3 separate regions of the Homo sapiens genome follow, and regions 2 and 3 are each linked to region 1. Evidence: promoter capture Hi-C in 16 types of primary human blood cells and fetal thymus (Javierre and others, 2016). All regions are on one chromosome and are shown on one strand. Each heading gives the region's core, a stretch centred on a gene start or on the middle of the fragment in contact. The rest is flanking DNA. Distances are from core to core; before and after follow the strand shown.

Region 1 (3,021 bases), core at 215-2,714:
TTTGTGCTTTCCCTGGTGGGCCGGCAGAGGCCGAGGCCGAATTGGAGGATCGCATCTTGGTGTTGGGCAGTTTGTGGTCTTTCTTCCACTTCATCCTCCGGTTCTGAAACCAGATCTTGACCTGGCGCTCAGACAAACAGAGCGTGTGGGCGATCTCGATGCGGCGCCGCCGGGTCAGGTATCGATTGAAGTGGAACTCCTTCTCCAGCTCCAAGACCTGCTGCCGGGTGTAGGCGGTTCGAGAGCGCTTAGGCTCCCCTCCGTTATAACTGGGGTTAACTGAAAACCCAGAACCCCGAAATAGAAGGCCAAGGAGGAGGGAGCGGAAGAGAGGGAAAGGAGGAGGAGAGAGAAGGTGGGGTGGGGAAGAGCAATTGGACATCATCATTATATAATAACCTGACACCAAGTTCACGCAAGATACATAAAACGGCAAAGAAAATGTTTCACAGGCTATTGACAACGGGAAACACCCGAGAGCCATAAAGAATGGTGCTGGGCATTGGGGCTGAAGAAAAGCTTCAAAGACACATGGCCTGAAGCCTCTGCCAGGGCAATTAAATTTATGGGGGCTATAATTACTGCCCTAACAGTTTGGCGTCTCGTAAATCTCCTGATAAAGGGACCCTGGGTACAAAAGGGTTCTCATGTTGGGATCAGGCGGCTGGCTGGCGCGCACATACCCACATCTCACCGCAGCCCGGGTCAGATGGGGGCTCCCCTCCCGAGGCCCCCTTCCCCTGAGCCTCTCCCTCCTGACCCCGACCCTCGAACCCAGGCCCAGCCCCGGCCCACCTCCCGCGCCTCCCAAGCGGCGCCACGTACCGGCGCTGACATGGATCTTCTTCATCCAGGGGTACACCACGGGCTCCTTGCCCTTCAGGCCCAGCGGGCTCTTGTCGGCCAAGAGCAGCGGGCACGCGGGGGCGCTGCCCCCTGCCGGGACGCCTGGGGTGGCGGGGGCCGCCTCGCAGCGCCGCGGGGCCGCTGGGGGCACGGCGCGAGGCTGCAGGGGCGGCGGCAGCTGGGGCTGCAGGACGTGGCTCGCATGCAGGCCGTGCGCTGGGCCCTTGGCTTGCGCCGGGGGCTGCTCGGGCTGGGGCGGCCGCCCGGGGCTGGCGCCGCCGCGGTAGCCATAGGGGTAGGCGGTGTCCGCGGCCCCATGCGCGGGGTACAGCGCGGCAGCAGGGTAGGCGGGCTCGCGGGCGGTCCGCGGCGCGTAGTAGGAGGCAGTGGGCTCTCGGCCGCCGCCCGCGTGAGGGAGCTGGGGCTGCTGCAGCGGCAGGTGCTGGGTCGGGGGCGCTGGGGGCTGCTGGTAGCCGGGGCCCCCGCCCGGGCCGCCGTCTGCGCCGCCCGAGCCGCTGTGCTGCGCGTACTCCTCGAAGGGAGGGAACTTGGGCTCGATGTAGTTGGAGTTTATCAAAAACGAGCTCATGGTCATTAATTTGTGAAGTGCAAAAATACTAATTTTTCTCGCGTTGTCGTTTTTTCTGGGCTTGCCGAGGCCCCTCCCCCTCCTGCCTCGCTTCCCATCCCCCTTTCCTCTGCGCCCTTCCCCTCCCCCCGCTGTCAAGTGCCCACTCCTCCCCCTCCCGCAGACGCCGCCACCAAAGTTCGAGCCGCTCCTCCCCAGCCCAGCGCGCGCCCCGCCCCGTGCCCCACGTGCAGCGCCCCCACCAATGGGCGCACCGCGCGCGCGGACCCGGATCAGGAAACGCGCGGGTGCGTGATGGATGCTGCTGTCCGGCCCCTGGGCTGGGGGAGGGAGCAGGAGCTTTGGACCCCAGCCCCCCAGCTTTGGTTCCCGCTGGGAATTCAGGCCCTGTCAGGCTGTAGGTCCTCTCGGGAGCCCTCTGCCTGCCCTACTGCTGGCCTAGGCCTCGGGCTGTCTGGCGGCCGCGACTCAGCGCTGACCTCGGGCGCAACCCAGTCAGGCTTCGTGTCCTTCAGGGGTTCTAGGCTAACAGGCGAAAGGAAGGGCGTTGGGACCGAGGGGCATCCTGGTTTTTATGTACGCCACTGAGAGGCCACCAGACACATTTTCTCAACCGCAGATCCCCCTTCCCCACACCCTGCTCCTTGCGTGTCAGCCTGAGAGCCCTTGCTTTGAGAAGCTTGGCAGAAGCTGCAAAGGGTGGGCGGGCAGCTAAGAGAAATCGACCCAAGGATGTAAATCGAGGCCATTCCATTATAACTGGATGGACACTTTTCATTTTTTCCTTCTTTCAGAGACAATCTGTTTCGTGTTTTCCTAAGAAAAATTGGAACCTTCGTAATAGCATCTAATTTGACGGGGGTTGTCGATGTGAGAGCTAAATATGCCCGCATTTACTAGGTGCGATTGTGAGAGAGAAGGTGGCCCAAGGATGGGAATGGATAGAAGCAACACCTCCACAGAACCGAGCTTTGAAAACAATAACTTCCTATTTCAGAACTATCCCCAAACAAAAACAAGCTAAGGGTAGAATAAACACCTTGCCGGGTCTGATCGCTGATGGGTCTTTTCCAGCTAAGAATTTCATGTTTTCTCTTTTAGATCCTGCTTTCTCAGGCAGTATCTGAGGCTAGAGTTATATTTGCAGGACAGTCTATAATTTCTGAATTGCTGAAAATTAGCGTATTAACGATATCAGAAGCTCCGGAAAGGAGGGAGAGGAGACTGTTGCCTGCTATTTGGTAATTGAAATTTGATGGGTACACTAATTACGCCATTATTAACAAATAAATTACTTATTAATTCCACCTAATGTTGATCTTTGAAGTAAATACTGATGCCTTATTTGTGCTGTGTGCTTTCTCCCTTTCTTTTCTGAGTAGTAGACATATCTAGATCCTCTACTTTTCAGCCTAAATTAAAGCAGTGTAAACTAGCATAGTCACCATTCTAAAAATATTTTCATATTGGCATGCAAAAGCAAGGATTTTTCAGCTGGTGCACCTTAGTTGATTTTTCAAAGAGCAGTATAAACAGCCTTCTCACAACTGAGTCTGGAACGCAGACAAGGAAAATTATTTCCTAAG
Region 2 (3,331 bases), core at 637-3,136, 290 kb before region 1:
AGGGTCACAGATGAAGCTGGAAACCATCATTCTCAGCAAACTAACACAAGAACAGAAAACCACACATTGCATGTTCTCACTCATAAGTGGGAGTTGAACAATGAGAACACATGGACGCAGGGAGGGGAACATCACACACCATGGCCTGTCAGGGGGTTGGGGGCTAGGGGAGGGATAGCATTAGGAGAAATACCTAATGTAGATGATGGGTTGATGGGTGCAGCAAACCACCATGGCACATGTATACCTATGTAACAAACCTGCACGCTCTGCACATGTACCCCAGAACTTAAAGTATAATAATAAGAAAAAGAAAGAGGTTTAATTGGCTTATGGTTCTGAAGGCTGTACAGGAAGCATGGCACTGGACATCTGCTTGGCTTCTGAGAAAGCCTCAGGAAGCTTACAATCATGGTGGAAGGCAAAGCGGGAGCAGGCACAACACACGGTAAAAGAACAAGAGACAGAGAGTGGGGTTGGGAGGTGCCACATACTTTTAAATGACCAGATTTCACAAGAACTCACTGTCACGAAGATAGCACGAGGCCATGAGGGATTTGCCCCATGATCCAAACACCCCCCAACAGGCCCCACCTCCAGCACTGGGAATTACAATTCAACATGTGATTTGGGCGGAGATAAATATCCAAACTATATTAGGTGGAGACAGATTTAGCGTTTCTAACAAGCTCCCAGATGATGCTGATACTGTTGGTCTACTGACCATACTTTGAGTAGGAAAGGGCTAGAAAATCACTTCCTTTTCAGTACAATATCCACCTCTCTAGCCCAGAGTCTTATCAACACTCCCTTAATCAAAAGCAGCAGAGCAGTATGCTAGCTGGGGAAGAGGGAAAAAGTAACTCTTTTAAGAGCAGAGCATAATCCTTACAGTTGACAGACATGAATTCAAATTCCAGTTCTGCCACTATGTAGCTATATGCCATTGGGCATATCACTTAACCTCTCTATTTTAGGTTTCCTCATTTGTCAAATAGTGATAGTACTCTACTTCATAGAGATACTGTCATGATTAAAAATAAGTAATGTAGCAAAGCATTTAGCTTGCTACCTCCACTAGATGGTCTCTACGCCTTCATTTAACCTACATTTAACTTCCAGGACAATATCCCTCAAATCTGCATCCCTCACTTCAGTATACTCCTTCAGGGATCTCTTAATGACTACCAAATCAAAGGTAAATTCCTTAATTTGGCATTCAGCTCCTACTATAAATCATGCACCTACCTCCAAGACCCCCTCCACTCCTTCCTATTCAATACCACCTCTGGTCGTCACCCATATCTTCCCCATGCAGATCACCTCACCTCACTGCCACCATTCAATTTACTAATTCTGAAATGTGGGGACACAAGCATTTAGTGCTCTAGGGAACGTCTAAGCAATTACCCGGTTCAAACTCTTCATTTCACATACCAGAAAATAAAAATCCAAAAAGGCCTAAGCAACTTGTCCTTGACAAAAAAGTTATCATCAATTATAATGAAAACCTGGTTTCTGAGCTTGAACTCCAAAAGTTCTTTTCAGTTTGTTTTCCCATTCTCTGCAACAAACCTCAAGACCCACATAAAACTCACTTAAATAAAAGGCCCTCCCTCCACAATCTCTTAGAATTTAGGCATAAAGTTTATGCTGTGGTTTTTTTGACAGGATGCTAAAACATATGGCTGATTCAGCCAATACATCAGGAAGTAAAATCAATGAAACCAACTACTTGCCTTGGTATAGACTAAATCAATTGAATATTGTAGCACGTAGTATTTATTATTTTTGGAATCTGGTTTAATATAACCTAGATTGCTAGTTACCTTATTCTAGGTGATTATCTTCTCCTGCCATCTAGATTACATTTTTCTTAAAAATAGGAACTTTATCTTATTCACCCCCAATTGCCCTGTCCAAGTATCTTGTTCTCCTCTTCATGTACTGTGTAAATAACTGCTAATTTGCTGAATTAAAGATGCATTATTTTTCATAATGTTGAGTTTTACTTAACCTTTGCAGTCTTTCGTATCTAGTCCACTTTGTTATAGTATCATCCGTCCACTCTGTTTTATTCTGATGAATTTTCCTGATCAATAGCATAAAAACTTAGAAAGATAATTCTCAATGGCTATGTGTTTTATTTACTAATATATACCTTTGTATCACAAAAATATTTTACATCTGTGTACTTTATATCCCCAATTGCACAATATATACCTTGAGGATTAAAAATATGTCCTCTACTTTCTGTCATTTCCTCAACTATAATCCCTTCTCTTCCACCAAAATACTTGAAACTGTGCTATACACATAGCACAATGACTAAAATAATCATTGTTATTAAACTGCTAAAACATATATAAGCTAGCAATTTGGCATATTAAGACAACCCAAAAATTTTAAAAACAAAAGTGAAATGTTGATACATGTTATATATGCAAAAATATGTGCAAATTGCAAATTAATTGAATTTTTTAGAACAAAATACAAAAGATAATTTTAGGTGTCAAAAATATGATAGTGGGTTAAAAACACCCTAAATGCTAAGTTATTGAAAAATTTTTTTTCTAGTTTTAAACATTGTTTCATAGTTATCCTAAATGCTAAGTTATTGAAAAAAACCTTTTTTTCCAGTTTTAAACATTGTTTCATACTCTACTGATATGAGAGAAAAGTAAAACATCTATTTCGTGGCTTTTGTAAGAACTGATTAGTGCTACACCTAATTTTACACAAAAAAAGTCTTCCTCAAAAATTTGGTACATTAAATTTATGTTGTGCACACGGACAGGTTTATATCTAAGCCTGTTTTAGACACTTTCTAAGAGCTAATTATTTATAGGCATCCTGGAGACAATCTCTCTAAAGAAATCTGTTGGAAAAAATGATTTACATGCTTTATTAATCCAAATTTTTGTACATTGGATTTTTGTAAAGAAAAGTATACCAAAAAAAATTTTTAATATTATAAATTATGATAATAGTTCAGCCTTTTTCTTAATCCCTGAGATTTAAAAAATAGTTCCATTCCTAAAAAAAAATTTCTTCACACAAACCTGTGTCTCGCAATGCCCACAGCCTTTCAGTAACCTAGGTTATTCAGAAATTTTTAGTTAGAAAGACACCAGGACAATAAATGACTGTTCTATATTTTCAGCTTCATTTTAGCCTTCCTGTATTCACACCCTAGAGGTTTCAGATTTTTATCCACAAAGTGATTATGGTCTAGGACTGAATCAGATTTGTAACATACATCTACTGGGATCCTTCGACCTATCGTCGAGGGGCAGAGCCAATATATGTCTTCTAGCTCACTGAATCCTTT
Region 3 (3,132 bases), core at 164-2,663, 420 kb before region 1:
GTTCACTGTGCCTGGAAAGTGCTTCGTTTGGCTTTTTGCATTTATCCAAAAGGCTTCAGTTTAAATGTCATCTCTTCTTTAACCATAGAATACACATCATTTACTCCCTCTCACATTATCCTCTTATCTTGTGTCACCTACTACAATCTGTAACTATCTTAATAGGGACTAGGTCTGCCTTTTTCATGCCTAAACTCCCAGCACCTAGAACAGAATCTGACATGCAATGGGCTTTCAATAAATATTTGCTGGATGAGTTAATTAAGTGAATAATAATAAGATGACATGAGGAGAAGGTAAGACAAGATAAAAACAAAAAGCTTCAGTATTAGGAAAGGATAGACTGGAAAATAATTTGAAACAATCAGTAAAAAGCAACAGGAAATGTGGAAATGTAATACAGTGCTAAGATGCTTATTTGTTCTTTTTTGTTTTTTTTTTTGTTTTTAGATGGAGTCTCGCTCTGTCGCCCAGGCTGGAGTGCAGTGGCGCGATCTCGGCTCACTGCAAGCTCCGCCTCCTGGGTTCACACCATTCTCCTGCCTCAGCCTCCCGAGTAGCTGGGACTACAGGTGCCCGCCACCACGCCCAGCTCATTTTTTGTATTTTTAGTAGAGACGGGGTTTCACTGTGTTAGCCAGGATGGTCTCTATCTCCTGACCTCGTGATCCACCTGCCTCGGCCTCCCAAAGTGCTGGGATTACAGGCATGAGCCATCGCGCCCGACCTAAGATGCTTATTTGTAAATATAATATGTAAACAAGAAAACAAACTGGAGAAGGGCAAAGGTGGAGACAGTTTCAAGACAAAAGCGGTGGTAAGTAAAATCAAATTTCTAGAGATGAATTTGAGGACCAAGACTGATGATTAGGAGAGTACTGGTGACTCTGAAGAAGCTGGTTTAGTTAAGGAATGAGGATAGAAAACCAAACTGCCTGAGGATAAAGAGTAAGCAGGTGAAGAGACAACAGGAACAAAGGGAGCTCTTCCAAGAATTTGTGTGCTTAAGAGAAGCACGATTAGGTTGTAGTTCCTTGAACCAGGATGTGAAAAGAGGCCCATGCAGGAGGCAGATTTGGGATCTAGTCCAAAAAACTCAGACCTTGCAACTGAATGTCCTTATTATATATATTAAAAAAACTGCCCCATCTTAACTTCTTTAATAAGGAACAAAGGGGCTAATGGATAAGTGGCTATAAGCAGTTGTTATTTCTTCGTAAAAATTCTAATGAAGTTCTAATAAAGAGGAAAACATCTATAAACGAATGTTTTATTTGAAACAAAATTAAGGTAAAATTTCACTTAAGCTTGATTAAGTTAAATTGGATTTTTTCCCATTTTGTTGAAAGTTTTACATTACTCAGCTGTAGCACTTGCCGAGGCCAGATATGAAGAGTGCTTATATTTATCACTGACATTTTGTTGAACTTGTTCATTCTTATTAATCACTGCTTTAAAGTAAGCAGCTGAGTACTCTTAGGAAGTTGATATTCCCAGCTGACCTATCTGCAAAAATAGTGAAGCTTGATACTCTCTTGCTGCAGTCTGTCTCTATAGATGTATGTGTTCGTGTGGCTATGTGTACATATGTGTGTATTTTTTTTTCTGGGATTAAAGAAGCAAATACATTTTCGTGAAGCTACTACAAACTTTATCATATTCTATCTTCTGAAAGAATGGATGAATTAAAAACAAAAGCAGGCTGTGATCTGTTTATATTCTATATGGGAGACAAATCATATCTGAAGAATGAAGACTCCAGTTTAAAAGTCTGATATGAAGACTGTTAGAAGCTATGTCTTTACTTGTTGAGATTTCTTGGTGGCAAAGGATAAAACACTTGATTATGTTCAGATACAAATCCTATCGTGTGAATATCTGACCTTCTGGTACAGTGTTAGGATTTTTCATCCAGGATTCACAGAAAAAACATAAAAGCCTAGCCCCATTAACATAATTTTTCTTTTTTCTTTACAAATATTAGCATTTTAATTTGATTAAAGTGGTTGACATTTGCTTATCTTCTGGTTCAGAATTTTAATATGTATTCTATTGGTTCCCTCAGCAATGTAAACATATGTATGTGACTCTAAAAGTTTTGAATTCAATGGCTAAGTGATCCAAACCATCAATAATTTCTAGTGATTCTATTTGGTTCTTTAAAAAAATCTGATCTTTTTTTTACAGGATCTTTTTCTCTTGTTAAAGTTTCTTTTCCTTATTTTATCCTTGAATCATTGTAAATAATGTTGATTTTATAGCCTTTATAGTTCTGTCATCTCCAGTTCTTTGGGGATTAATTCTCCCCAAAGAATTAATAACATGGCCAAGCACAGTGGCTCAAGCCTGTAATCGCAGCACTTTGGAAAGCCGAGGCGGGTGGATCACCTGACGTCAGGAGTTCAAGACCAGCCTGGCTAACATGGTGAAACCCCGTCTCTACTAAAAATACTAAAATATTGGCCAGGCATGGTGGTGCACACCTATAATCCCAGCTATTCGGAAGGCTAAGGCAGGAAAATCACTTGAACCCAGGAGGTGGAGAGTGCAGTGAGCCGAGATCATGCCATTGCACTCCAGCCTGGGTGACAAGAACAAAACTCTGTTCCCTCCCCCAAAAAAAGAGTTAACAACAATGCTACAATGCTACAAGTTGTTATTTGTACTAATTTCAGTGTATTTCATATGGAAAACTACATATTTTGTCATTTCCATTGTAATTTCCTCTTTTAACTCATGAACTATTATTTTTTCAGCTTCCAAACACATGGGTTTGGGTATTTTCAACTACCTTTTCAGAGTTGGCTCTTAATTAAATTTAATTGTAGTTAAAGACCATAGTCTGTATAACACAGATTCAGTGTAATTTGTTGAGAGTTTAACTGTGAACACATATGTAGTCAATTTCTATGATTATTCTATGTGTACTGAATGAACAAATATTCTCTACTATGCAATGTTACTTTATATCTTTTTGATAGATTATTAATTTTGTGGTTAAATCTTTATATCCTTACTTATTTTTTGCCTCCTTGGTCTATCAGTTTTTGAAAGGGGTATCTTAAAATTTCCCACTATGATTAAGAACTTGTCAAATTAGTCTTATATGTTTTCGTGTTATAGATATTAGGG

The links. The method cuts DNA at HindIII sites, captures the fragments that hold promoters and counts their contacts. A CHiCAGO score of 5 or more calls a contact.
Region 2: a fragment that was not itself captured here is called in contact with the fragment with the promoter of HOXA4 in region 1 in 1 of 17 cell types (neutrophils); the score reaches 5.0 in neutrophils.
Region 3: a contact is called between a fragment that was not itself captured here and the fragment with the promoter of HOXA4 in region 1, in 1 of 17 cell types (megakaryocytes). The highest score is 7.2, in megakaryocytes.

Annotation. Positions count from the first base shown.
Region 1 is chr7:27,129,293-27,132,313 of GRCh38, forward strand. It overlaps HOXA4 (homeobox A4), which reads right to left and starts at 1,465. Exons shown (of 2, transcript NM_002141.5): 1 at 826-1,465; 2 at 1-279. The coding sequence starts at 1,441. All of the region lies in intron 2 of HOXA3 (homeobox A3), which reads right to left. RefSeq lists a silencer at 1,623-1,692. The HindIII fragment of the contact is 1,595 bases long and covers 518-2,112 here.
Region 2 is chr7:26,837,034-26,840,364 of GRCh38, forward strand. All of the region lies in intron 4 of SKAP2 (src kinase associated phosphoprotein 2), which reads right to left. All of the region lies in intron 2 of LOC124901606 (a long non-coding RNA gene), which reads left to right. Among named protein-coding and RNA genes, the nearest start is that of SKAP2, 26 kb to the right of the region's middle. The HindIII fragment of the contact is 2,972 bases long and covers 401-3,331 here.
Region 3 is chr7:26,713,171-26,716,302 of GRCh38, forward strand. The region is part of intron 9 of SKAP2 (src kinase associated phosphoprotein 2); the gene reads right to left. Among named protein-coding and RNA genes, the nearest start is that of LINC02860, 77 kb to the left of the region's middle. The HindIII fragment of the contact is 216 bases long and covers 1,306-1,521 here.